3 separate regions of the Homo sapiens genome follow, and all the other regions are linked to region 1. Evidence: promoter capture Hi-C in 16 types of primary human blood cells and fetal thymus (Javierre and others, 2016). All regions are on one chromosome and are shown on one strand. Each heading gives the region's core, a stretch centred on a gene start or on the middle of the fragment in contact. The rest is flanking DNA. Distances are from core to core; before and after follow the strand shown.

Evidence for each region. The method cuts DNA at HindIII sites, captures the fragments that hold promoters and counts their contacts. A CHiCAGO score of 5 or more calls a contact.
Region 2: a contact is called between the fragment with the promoter of GZF1 here and the fragment with the promoter of CST9 in region 1, in 16 of 17 cell types (M1 macrophages, M2 macrophages, fetal thymus and 13 more). The highest score is 30.2, in M1 macrophages.
Region 3: a fragment that was not itself captured here is called in contact with the fragment with the promoter of CST9 in region 1 in 2 of 17 cell types (M0 macrophages and fetal thymus); the score reaches 5.5 in M0 macrophages.

What each region holds. Positions count from the first base shown.
Region 1 is chr20:23,604,448-23,607,774 of GRCh38, reverse strand. It overlaps CST9 (cystatin 9), which reads left to right and starts at 1,858. Exons shown (of 2, transcript NM_001008693.3): 1 at 1,858-2,165. The coding sequence starts at 1,911. The HindIII fragment of the contact is 2,472 bases long and covers 883-3,327 here.
Region 2 is chr20:23,360,340-23,363,666 of GRCh38, reverse strand. GZF1 (GDNF inducible zinc finger protein 1) reads right to left here and starts at 1,485. Exons shown (of 6, transcript NM_022482.5): 1 at 1,430-1,485. RefSeq lists silencers at 1,200-1,689, 2,110-2,199 and an enhancer at 1,760-2,019. The HindIII fragment of the contact is 6,657 bases long and covers 1-2,207 here.
Region 3 is chr20:23,406,741-23,410,067 of GRCh38, reverse strand. All of the region lies in intron 1 of NAPB (NSF attachment protein beta), which reads left to right. Among named protein-coding and RNA genes, the nearest start is that of NAPB, 13 kb to the left of the region's middle. RefSeq lists enhancers at 1,661-1,720, 1,861-1,920. The HindIII fragment of the contact is 1,648 bases long and covers 706-2,353 here.

The DNA of each region.
Region 1 (3,327 bases), core at 609-3,108:
GGACAGAGCTGGTGCCCAGGACCCTAAACCACTGCTCATGTAAGAGTGAGTGTGGGCACTCCCTTGGAGCACATGTGGGTATCGGCCCTCAGAATGGTGGGGGAGCCACTGGCAATTGGCAGGATGCCCCAAGTTTGTCAGCCGCTGAACTTACAAGGTGAGAGTGACCTCCATGGGCATTGCAGGCCTCTCTCAGGACACTCGCAACCTATTCCAGGCATCAGGATTCTAGTTCTCACAGCACCTTATGGCCTGCTCATCCCAAAACCCACAAAGGCATTTCCGCCCTCACTGACACCCCCTTCCTACCCCTACGTGCACCATCACTCTCCAGCTAAGAAACCACATTAGTTACGCTTCAGCTGCAGTTCCAGTGAACTCAACGCCATCAGAGAAAGGATACAGACTCCTTGGGTGATGTTTTTGGCACATCTGGCTGCTTTCCTGGAATTGTCACATTGAGTTGCTTTTTCTTTGCAAACAGGGTCTAGAAACAAACTCTTATTCTTTATCACCAGGCATGCTGTCTAAGCCTGTCCCCCATCCTGTGTGCCCCACAAAAGCCATTCTCATCCCCTGACCTCCATGCCCCTCAAGCTGAGTTACTTCTCATATGTGGTTTGGTCTGTATGCACTTCCCAGGAAGTATTCTGAACCTGCACCACTCAAAGTATGGTTCTGAGACCGGGAACACAACCATCCTCTGGAAGCTGGTGAGAAATGTAGTTTCCCTGGCCCTGCTCACAGCTACTGGGTCAGAATCTTTGGGTGGGGAAACTAGGAACTTGCTTTTTAACGTGACATCAGGGGATGCTGGTTGCTTCTGAAGTTTACAAGGAGCTACGGATAAACATCAAAGGCATATTTCACAGGGACAAAGCTTAAGTCTGGTCTGTGAAGAGTGCATTATTCAGTCTTTTGAGAGCCCCATTTGCGGTTGGAGTTGGAGGCTATGTGGGTCTTGGTCGAGAACTCAGAATCTCCACCCACAAACTGTGCCGCAGAGTGCTGTGCCGGCTGTGGCCACAGGAGGGAACCCGTGACAACCTAATGGGTGCACTTCAGCCATCCCTGAGGGCATCTTCGTCTTTCTGGTTCTCCACTGCTCCAATTGCAAGCGGCCACCCGTCCTGGAAACACCTTTGAGGAATAGGGGCAGCCATAACTAGCCAGGCCCCTAGTACCAGCACTTGGCAGCGCGTCCCTGGGCTGGGAAGCTGCATTTAGGGAGGTGCAGAGAACAGGGTTGGGGGCTCCTGCTCTTGATTTCCTCAACCTCTGCCCACGACCCCCAGGCTGGTGCCCCCCTCCCGAGACCCTCGGGGGAGCAGACACCTGCAGGACATCCCGCCAATCCTCCCGGGCTCCCCGCCTCTCTCTCAAGAGGCCCAGTGCTTTCTCGGGGCGCTGTACCTGCTCACCCATGATACTAGCATCCACTGTCATCCCTTTCCATCCTTTTGTCTCTGCCTTTCCACCTAACCTCCCCCTCCCAGCCCACCCCCACTGCTGAGTCCAGGGCTCACCTTCCACTCATACCTCTCACACTTGTGTTCCTGTGCCGGGCTCTGACTCTGGGGCGCCCAGTAGAGGTCTCCTTTAGCCTGCGGAGGTGCTGGGGCAGCTGGGGCTGGGCCTCATGTTCAGGGCACTATCTCTCCCATTGCTAGTCTTTTCCAACCCACCTGCCTGGGTGCTGTTCCTCTCCCCTAAACAGGAGATGATTTAAACGCCTTTGGAAGAAGGGAGGCCATGTGTGGGAGAGACAGGGTGTAACTGCAGAGGTGAGGCCTGGAGGGAGGAGTTTCTGCCCCAGCAGGTGAATTTAAAGGCCAGACCTGAGCCCTGGAAGGCTCCAGTGGACGCCAGGGATCTGAAGGGCAAAGGCAAGGGCTGCTGGAGCCTGCATCATGTCGAGTCCGCAGAGGAGGAAGGCTATGCCCTGGGCACTGTCACTGCTTCTCATGGGCTTCCAGCTCCTGGTGACTTATGCCTGGTGTTCTGAAGAGGAAATGGGTGGTAATAATAAAATAGTCCAGGATCCTATGTTCCTCGCCACAGTGGAGTTTGCCTTGAACACTTTCAACGTGCAGAGCAAGGAGGAGCATGCCTACAGGCTGTTGCGCGTCCTGAGTTCATGGAGGGAGGATAGCATGGACAGAAAGGTTGGTGACCACATCCTCTTCTGGCCTGTCCTTCTCCATCTGCCCCTAAGTGAGGGACCAAGATGTCTAGTCTAGGAGACTTGGTTCACCATCAGCAGTCCATAGTCAGGTAGTCCACAACCAATTACGGTAGTTTTAGTTTTGGAAAACATTGAACTTAAAATTTTTTTTAAATTAGGTAAATGTCTATTCACATGCAAAATATATTTTTCAATCTTCATGATTTTTAAGACATTGTATAACTGAAGAGTGACTTCAAAATAAGGACTTCTAAGGAGATGAAGCTGACAAGAAGAGAAAATAACCAAAGAGACTGATAAACATTTCCAGGTCATAAAATGAAAATGGAAAAGCAAGGACACACAGAGGGAGAGAGAGAGAGAGACAGAGAGAGACAGACAGACAGAGAGAGAGAGACAGAGAGAGAGAGAGACAGGCAGACAGAGAGAGAACAGTGAGAATTCGAGGGCAATAAAGAACACCATCAGCCCTGAGAGGCCACCGTGAAAGGTTAGTTCTCTGATCTCCACCTTCTCTGGGCTCCTTGCTCTGTCTGCACTTAATGAACTGAAGGCCAATTTACACTCTTCCTCAATGGACCTTTATCCTAAAATGCTTGCCTTTTTGATGAAATCATTAAATGTGGTCAGGAATGCACAGTTCATCTGGGCTTCAGGCATGAACAATTAAAATGCCCTCCTAGTGGAGAACTTCTGGTTTAGAGAGAGAAGGAGCATTGCTCTTCCTTTCTCAGCACCAAGAGCCTGAAAGAAAGGCAGAGGGACTCTAGTACCGCACAGAGCTTAAGCTCTGGAAAGACTCTGTGCAAGGCTCTGGCTGGTTCTCTGCCTCCTGGGGTGGATTCCTCACTGCCATCCTCAGGATTCCAATGCTGGTACAGAGGAATTTTCCTCCTTGCTCATTTGCTGCCTCCTCTCAGGAGAATTAAAAGCCTGATGCAACCCTCAGAGGGGCATCTGGTCCAGTAATGGTGGCTGCTAATATTCATGCTGGAACCTTGGAAGTCTCAGAGATTGAGATTGGCCAGGCCTCATGCTTCTGCTTTCCCAGTGCTTTGCTTGATTCTCCAAGACCTCAGTGTAAGCCTCCATTCTTAATACCGTTAGAATAAAATCTAAGCTCCTTACTATGGTCTATAAGT
Region 2 (3,327 bases), core at 236-2,735, 240 kb after region 1:
TGAAACTTGTTGGCTAGTTTATTGGTTTCCCACACATAGGCCAAGGTGCTACAGTGATCCCCATTTCATAGATGAGGACCTATCAAGGTAACAGTCAATGGCTGGTTGGGACATGAGCCAGGGCCTGGTGCCCGGATTCAACTCAGACTACTCAACACACTCTTCCCCTCAGCCTTGCCAAAGGCAAAGGGCTATCTTTAGCCCCTAAATCTTTCCACTGCAGCGGGCATGCAAATTTCACCAACCCCACCTAAGGCCTCCAGATACCGTCACCCCATCGTCATTTCTGCTGCTTTGCCACAAACTCCCTGAATGTGTTTTCTCCCTGCCCTTCAGCTCCTGAATCTACCTTCCTCTTTGATTCCTGTTTCCATCCATCCAAAGCACATGCCTTCCTTCTAGCCTCCTTCGGCCAGACCACAGATGTCACCTCGGATTCAACGTGTCTAGAAAAAAAGTTGTCATCATCTTCCCTGATAAACTAGTCCCACCCCTCTCCCCTTCTCCAGTCTCATCAATGAGACCGCTCCCCACAACTAGCAGTCCCTCAAACATGGAAAAGACTGCCCTCTGGGAGTTCCGCTGTAAACAGGTACCTATGAGGCTTGATCAATGTCGCCTGAAGGAGACGCCCCAGTAAAACTGTGAGAACACTGACAAAGCCTAAGGAAGGGATCTATAAGAGTGGGGCTCTTATAGAGCCACTGGGGTTTCAGTGGTCCCAGCCCCAGCCTGGGGAAACAAGACTGCAGAGGGCTCTCTCAGCCTGATGCCCTGACTTCCCCAGACCTCTGCCAACAGGGCCCTCGAGGAGACCTGATTTCTCAATCAACAAAGTGGGTTCTGAGCGCGATTTCCTATGTTGCTTGGCTACTGGAGTGCAGGCACTGGAGGTGGCGACAGGGCAGTCTGCGGCCGGTGACAGCTGCGTATCCGCCGAATCTCATTGGCATTCCGGCCGCCTCCCAGTGCGCCCGGCATCTGCACCAACGTCGGCGGCCCCTGAATCCCCGAGGCTCACGGGGCCAGAGCCCTTCCAGGAGACGCTGCTACCCGCAGCCCAGTCCACGGCCACAAGGGCCGGGGTTTCCAGTGGGGCTTAAATCCGCCGCTGTCCTCGCCGCCCTCACGGCACCTCCCACCCTTCCCGCGCCACTTGGCCGCCCCAGCGCCCGGACGCCGCTCGGCCACTCCAAAGACGACCCAGAGAACAAACTACTGCAGCCACAGAGAAGCCCCTCCTCGGCCCGACGCGCCGCCTCCCGACGCGGGCATCCGGGGCCGCGTGGATCAGGCCCTCGGGCCGCCCCCTGCCCCCGCTCCCGCATCCCCGAGACGCGCAGGTCCACAGAGCAGCCGGGGCGCGCGGACAAAGAGGCGGCGGCGGGCGGCGAGGGGCCGGAGCCAGGCCTACGGGCCGCGCACTCACCTCCCAGCCGGCGCCCCCGCTGCAGCCGCTGTCCGCTGGACCAGGCCGGTAGGAACGGCCGGCCCGGCTGGGCGTGGCGTAGCACCCTGCGCGGGCACCGCCGATTGGTCGCTGCAGGCCCCTCCCCTCCCGCGGCCGGCCCCGCCCCTGGCGGGGCTGAGGAAGGGGCTGAGCCACACGTCGGGCGGCGGAGCGGTTCGGGCAGTTACCTGATCTGGCCGCGCGACTGACTGGCGACGCCGGATTGCGTCACCCGCCGCATTGCGTCACCCGCCGCGAGCCAAGGCCTGCGCCTGCGCAGGAGACAGCGACGTCTGCGCTGCGGCACGCCACAGGGGGGCGGGGCCAGTCGCGAAAAGTCACGTGAGCGTCAGATTCGCGTGGTCACTTTCGCGTCCATTCCGGGCTTCTGGCCGCAAGGCGCCAGCGCTTCCGGGCCCCAGCAGCCTGCGGTCAGGGCCTGCAGCTGGCTTCCCACTAAGAGCTGCTCACGTCCCCGAGGCCGAGCGCACCCTTAGGGCACGGTGGCCACGCGAGGGACCTCGCGGAAAGCCGGGCTTGGAGCTGGTACTCACCTTGGCTACTAGGGGCGCAGATGCCTCCACGGGCGCTGGAGAACTGGCGCCAGGCGGGGCTCGGCGCGGCGCTCTCCTCTGGGGCGCTTCTTCCGCGGTGCCCCCGCCCTGCTGGGGGGCTCGGCGCGCCAGGAGCCGGGACCGCACCCTGCCGTCTTTACTGCAGGGCTTTATTTCCAGGAGTTCCCATTCGGGCGAAAGCTTTGTTCACTACAGAACTTCCCCAGAGACCCATCCACTCTTCGGGGAAAGCACAATTGATTCCCTAAGATTCGCTGACTCCTCGAAATCTTGCTGTTTCCACCAATTCTTGCTCAATACTAACTAAAGCCCGCTTTGAAACACCTTCCTTGAGTCAGACTTCCAGTTCTCAATAAACTGACCTTGCCTTTTGCTCCCAGCCATTGGTAAAGCTTTGCCAGGTCATGCTGTCCCTTACTGTGGCCAGCAGTTAACTCAGCCTTGTCTTACCGACACGTTGAGTTTGTAATGTTTGGGGACTGTCAGGACAAATACAAATTTAAAATAAGGTTTACTACTTCCTGTTGAAAATATGAGATTTCCCTCCCTTTTTCTTCGAACATTTACTTTTAGAAAATTGGTAATTAGTGTAAGTACTTTTTCCTCTCTTTGAAATATATAAATCCTTTTGAAGACTAGTTAGGCCTTTTTGTGCGCTTTATAACCTAGATATGTCTTTTTCTAGGACCTAGGAGCCATCTCTTTAAGTATCAAGGGAGTTAATGCCCCTGTCTCCCAGTTTTAATGGGGGAGTAGGAGCCTAACTTCAGTGGGCCCTTTGCTCCAACTTACAAAATTATCTCATATCATAAAGATACAAGTTTCTTTTTCCTCTAGATAAAGCCAATTGGCTAACACAGAGGATCATCCCAAATATCAGGTTAGATGAACTGTGTGTGATGAAAAATGCTGCCAAGTTCCCTTGAGAGCTAGTTATTGTTTATCTTGAAAATGTGTGTAATAGATTGCTTGGCTGCACAAAAGAGTGAGATTTCGTTCTGTCTTTGCAGTCTCTTAATGGATTGCCTGTGATGGGTATCACATTCTAGTTTAATGCTTATTCAATTACAAAGTGTTTTCTTTCTCCACTACCTTTCTGAAGAGGGTTGGGAGATTGTACTTTTAATTATATTTCCTGAACAGGAGCCAGCTTCCCACACATAGTAGGTGCTCAATAAATATTTGAAGAATGAATGAGTGACAGAAATCTTTCTTAGGCCGACTCTCTATATTTGCATTCCATGATTTGAAGAAATTGGAATGAACGCAGTTTTCACCCATGGCTCCAGCAGGCCCAGAATC
Region 3 (3,327 bases), core at 280-2,779, 200 kb after region 1:
TTCTGGAAACTGCAGCCTGTGGCAAAGCCCTTCTATTCAGTTCCCAACTGCAGTGCTCTAACCTGCCAGGTCTTCCACCTGGTCTGGGGTGTTTGCCCACCCTGGTAGGGCACTTCCTTGCTGAGAGTTCTTCCCTGGACAATGATTGCCAGGTTAAACTCCCCTCTCCTGTCGACAGACGCCCCTCTGACTGGCAGCAGAGGCAGTGTTGCTAGCTCTGGTAGTTTTGGATTTTTTATTTCCTAAATTATATTTAATGGAGGCTTGCTGAATACTGCCTCCTTTTGCTGTAGGCACGGATTATGGGTGGTTGTGTATGCTTTTTGTTGATCTATAAGGTTTTTGGAGGATGTGTGGATATATTTATCTAAGCAGCCACCATGATTTTTTGGGAATCACATGTCTCATCAGTATTTTCTGAAGACTGAAATTCAGCTTAAATTTTTATAAAGACTGAAATTCAATTTAAAAACTGCTCTTGGTAAATCAGGTTGTATGTAACAGTCATTTCTGAATTAATCTAGCAGTTACCATTATCTTTCTTAAGTATTTAAATATGTTTGTTTTGTTTTATAAATAGGTCCAGTGTATACCTATTTCTTCTCTATAAAGATGACTACTCCCCATATAAAGTTGAGGCATTAGAAAACTATTGTCAAAATAAAGTCTAACTAGTTTTCTTTGTTATACTTGTTCTCATAAGCTTTATTTCAGGAAATTGTGCTTAAACACAAATACTTTGGTCACAGGCCTTAAATGTCTCTGATTATTTTCTCTGTTTGAGAATCTATGATTTTTGTCCTTAATTAAGCAGAAGTAAACTGAAAAGTTCTTAGAAAATTGATTCCAAAAGCTCAAGGCCACTGAGACAGCGCTCCCCTTACTGGTACAGTGCTAGCTGGCTTGGTGGAATTTTTCTTTCTCTCCAAGGCCAAGACAGGCCTGGCTGCTCCAGGGAACTGGAGGCTGGTAAATAAATGATACTGTTCATTTGTAGGTGGTCTGACTCAAGCCCATGCCCTGGGCCTTTCCACCATACCTTGGGCTTCTGCATTACCGATTTATAAAAGAACAGTGAAACATTTAAATGCTGCCTTTTGCTGTAAGAATTCAAATTAGCATTCTGGAGAGTATCTCCCTCCTACCTTTTTAAAAAAATAGTTTTTAATTGACACATTGTATTGCATATATTGATGGGGTACAGTTTGATTTTTTGATATACGTCTGTGTTGTATAATGATCAAATCAGGATAGTTAGCATACTCATCACCTCATACATTTATCATTTCTTTGTGTTGAGAACATGTAAAAATATCTCTTCCAGTTGTTTTGTGTCCTTCTGGGGCCTCTGCATCTCCTCCACGGAAGAAATCTCTACTTTTGCATCACATAAAAGATTTGTACTGTTTTAAAATATATTAAGCACTGAAATAAAGTAATCTTGGAAGGGTTAAGTTTACCTAGGAAAGCCCCAAGTTTTTAGAATCTGTGGAGTTTCCAGAAGTGAAGCATCAGGTGGAAATAAATTGTTTATAGAGCCTATAATATCACAGAGTAGTTGTGTATGGCAGAGGCACGTTCAGACAGATTTTGAATTTTCCTCTCTTCTGGATTCTTTCTACATTTGCTTATTATTTTGAGGCATACATGGGAAACCTTAAAAAATGAATGTGGACAGTTTGTTCCATCCAGACACTAAGCATCAGCCTTGTTATTGTGGCCTGTGTGCTAGGCCCTGTGCTGCTTCCTCTTCCCCAGAGCATCAGTCTAGTGGCTAAGGAGATACTGCTGGTAAATAATGAGAAGAAGGAGGTACCATGCTTTGTGGGGATCCCCCCAGGCTCCCCACACTGGGCAAGTCCCTTTTCAGTCTTTTGGGGTGGCTTGACACACCCCTTCATGGCATCCTGATGTTAGAGCTGAATTTTGCCTCTGGTTCTACATGCTTATCTTCATAGTACTGTCACTGTCACTTTTTGTGGTATTTCTACTCTAATATCTTGTGATTTTAGAGGCAACTTTATTTCTATCTCAGGAGTTGTCAGCCTTTTTCTTTGAGGTACATCTCATGATGTGTGTGTCATTAGTTCTCACAATTCTACGATGTCTCCTTCCTCCCACCCACAGTTTTAAAATAGTACGGACTATAGTTGTCATAGTTTTACAATGCTCTGCAATAGTTATTATTCAGGATGGGGGAAATCAAGATTTTAGATTATTTGAAGATGAATTGGTTTTCACAGCTCTGCTGTTCACTGGCTCCTGGTGGGACATTTGTGGCTTTGACAATGTTTCCTCAGGGGAACATGGGGAATTGATAGGCTTTTTCTCAGACCCTTCTGGCCGTGAAGCTTGATATTCTTTCCTCAGTGTCGTGACCTCCTTGTGGGCAAGAAGTTTATTTCCTTAGTGTTTTCTGGCACATATGGATCTCAGTAAATATTTCCTGAATAAGTACGGTCAAGAAGAAGAGAGTCTGCCTTGCCTCTGGAATGCAAGGGTGGTTCACCTGGGCCAGCCAGGTGGCAGTGGTTTTTGTGCTAGCTGGGCAGTGTTTTCTTTCACGGTGGGGAAAATGTTTTCTTCTTCCAAGTCAGATTCCTGTAATACAAAAAAATAGTTAATTTAGCTCAGTTTAGCTTCTTAATGTCAATTGAGTGCTAAGTGTTTAACTTATGTTGCTGCGTAATATGGATTCCCCACAGAATATTTTTTCCAAGGATCTTCTGCCTCACTGTGAGACCTCTGGATAACAGTTGTTACTTTGAATGCAAATTCTGAATACTTGTCCATAAAATTTACAAAAAATTAACTTTCACATAAAACAAAATAAGCATCCGGTGTAATTTCAAAAGTACCTTTTTTCAGGAAGTTTTAAAGTTATGGTCAGTTTATGACAAATGGGTTTTTAAAGTGAGGCTACCTCTGGCAATTCTGTTTCAGGAGACATGAGGATCTCATGGTTTAGCAAAGTTCAAAGGTCACTGAACTTGAAGTCAAGTGTCAGGTACACTACTGACCTTGGCTGGGTAGCCTTGGATAAGCCATTGTCCTCTAGATGCCATTTTCTCTTCAGTAAAATAGAGATAGTGTCTTTCATGGTTGTAATAATGAAAATGACATAACATATATGGAAATATCTAGCATAAAACCTGGAATAATGTAGGAACTCTGTTAATTCTAGCTGTATCCTGTCTCTGAAAATAAGTGGATAAAGTACATTTTAATTAAGCTAGTTTTATTTAGAAACCTTTAATAAGAATGATTGAACTATAATTACAGTTCAAGATTCCCAGTACTCTTTAGAAAAACAAGACCCAAGAAAGT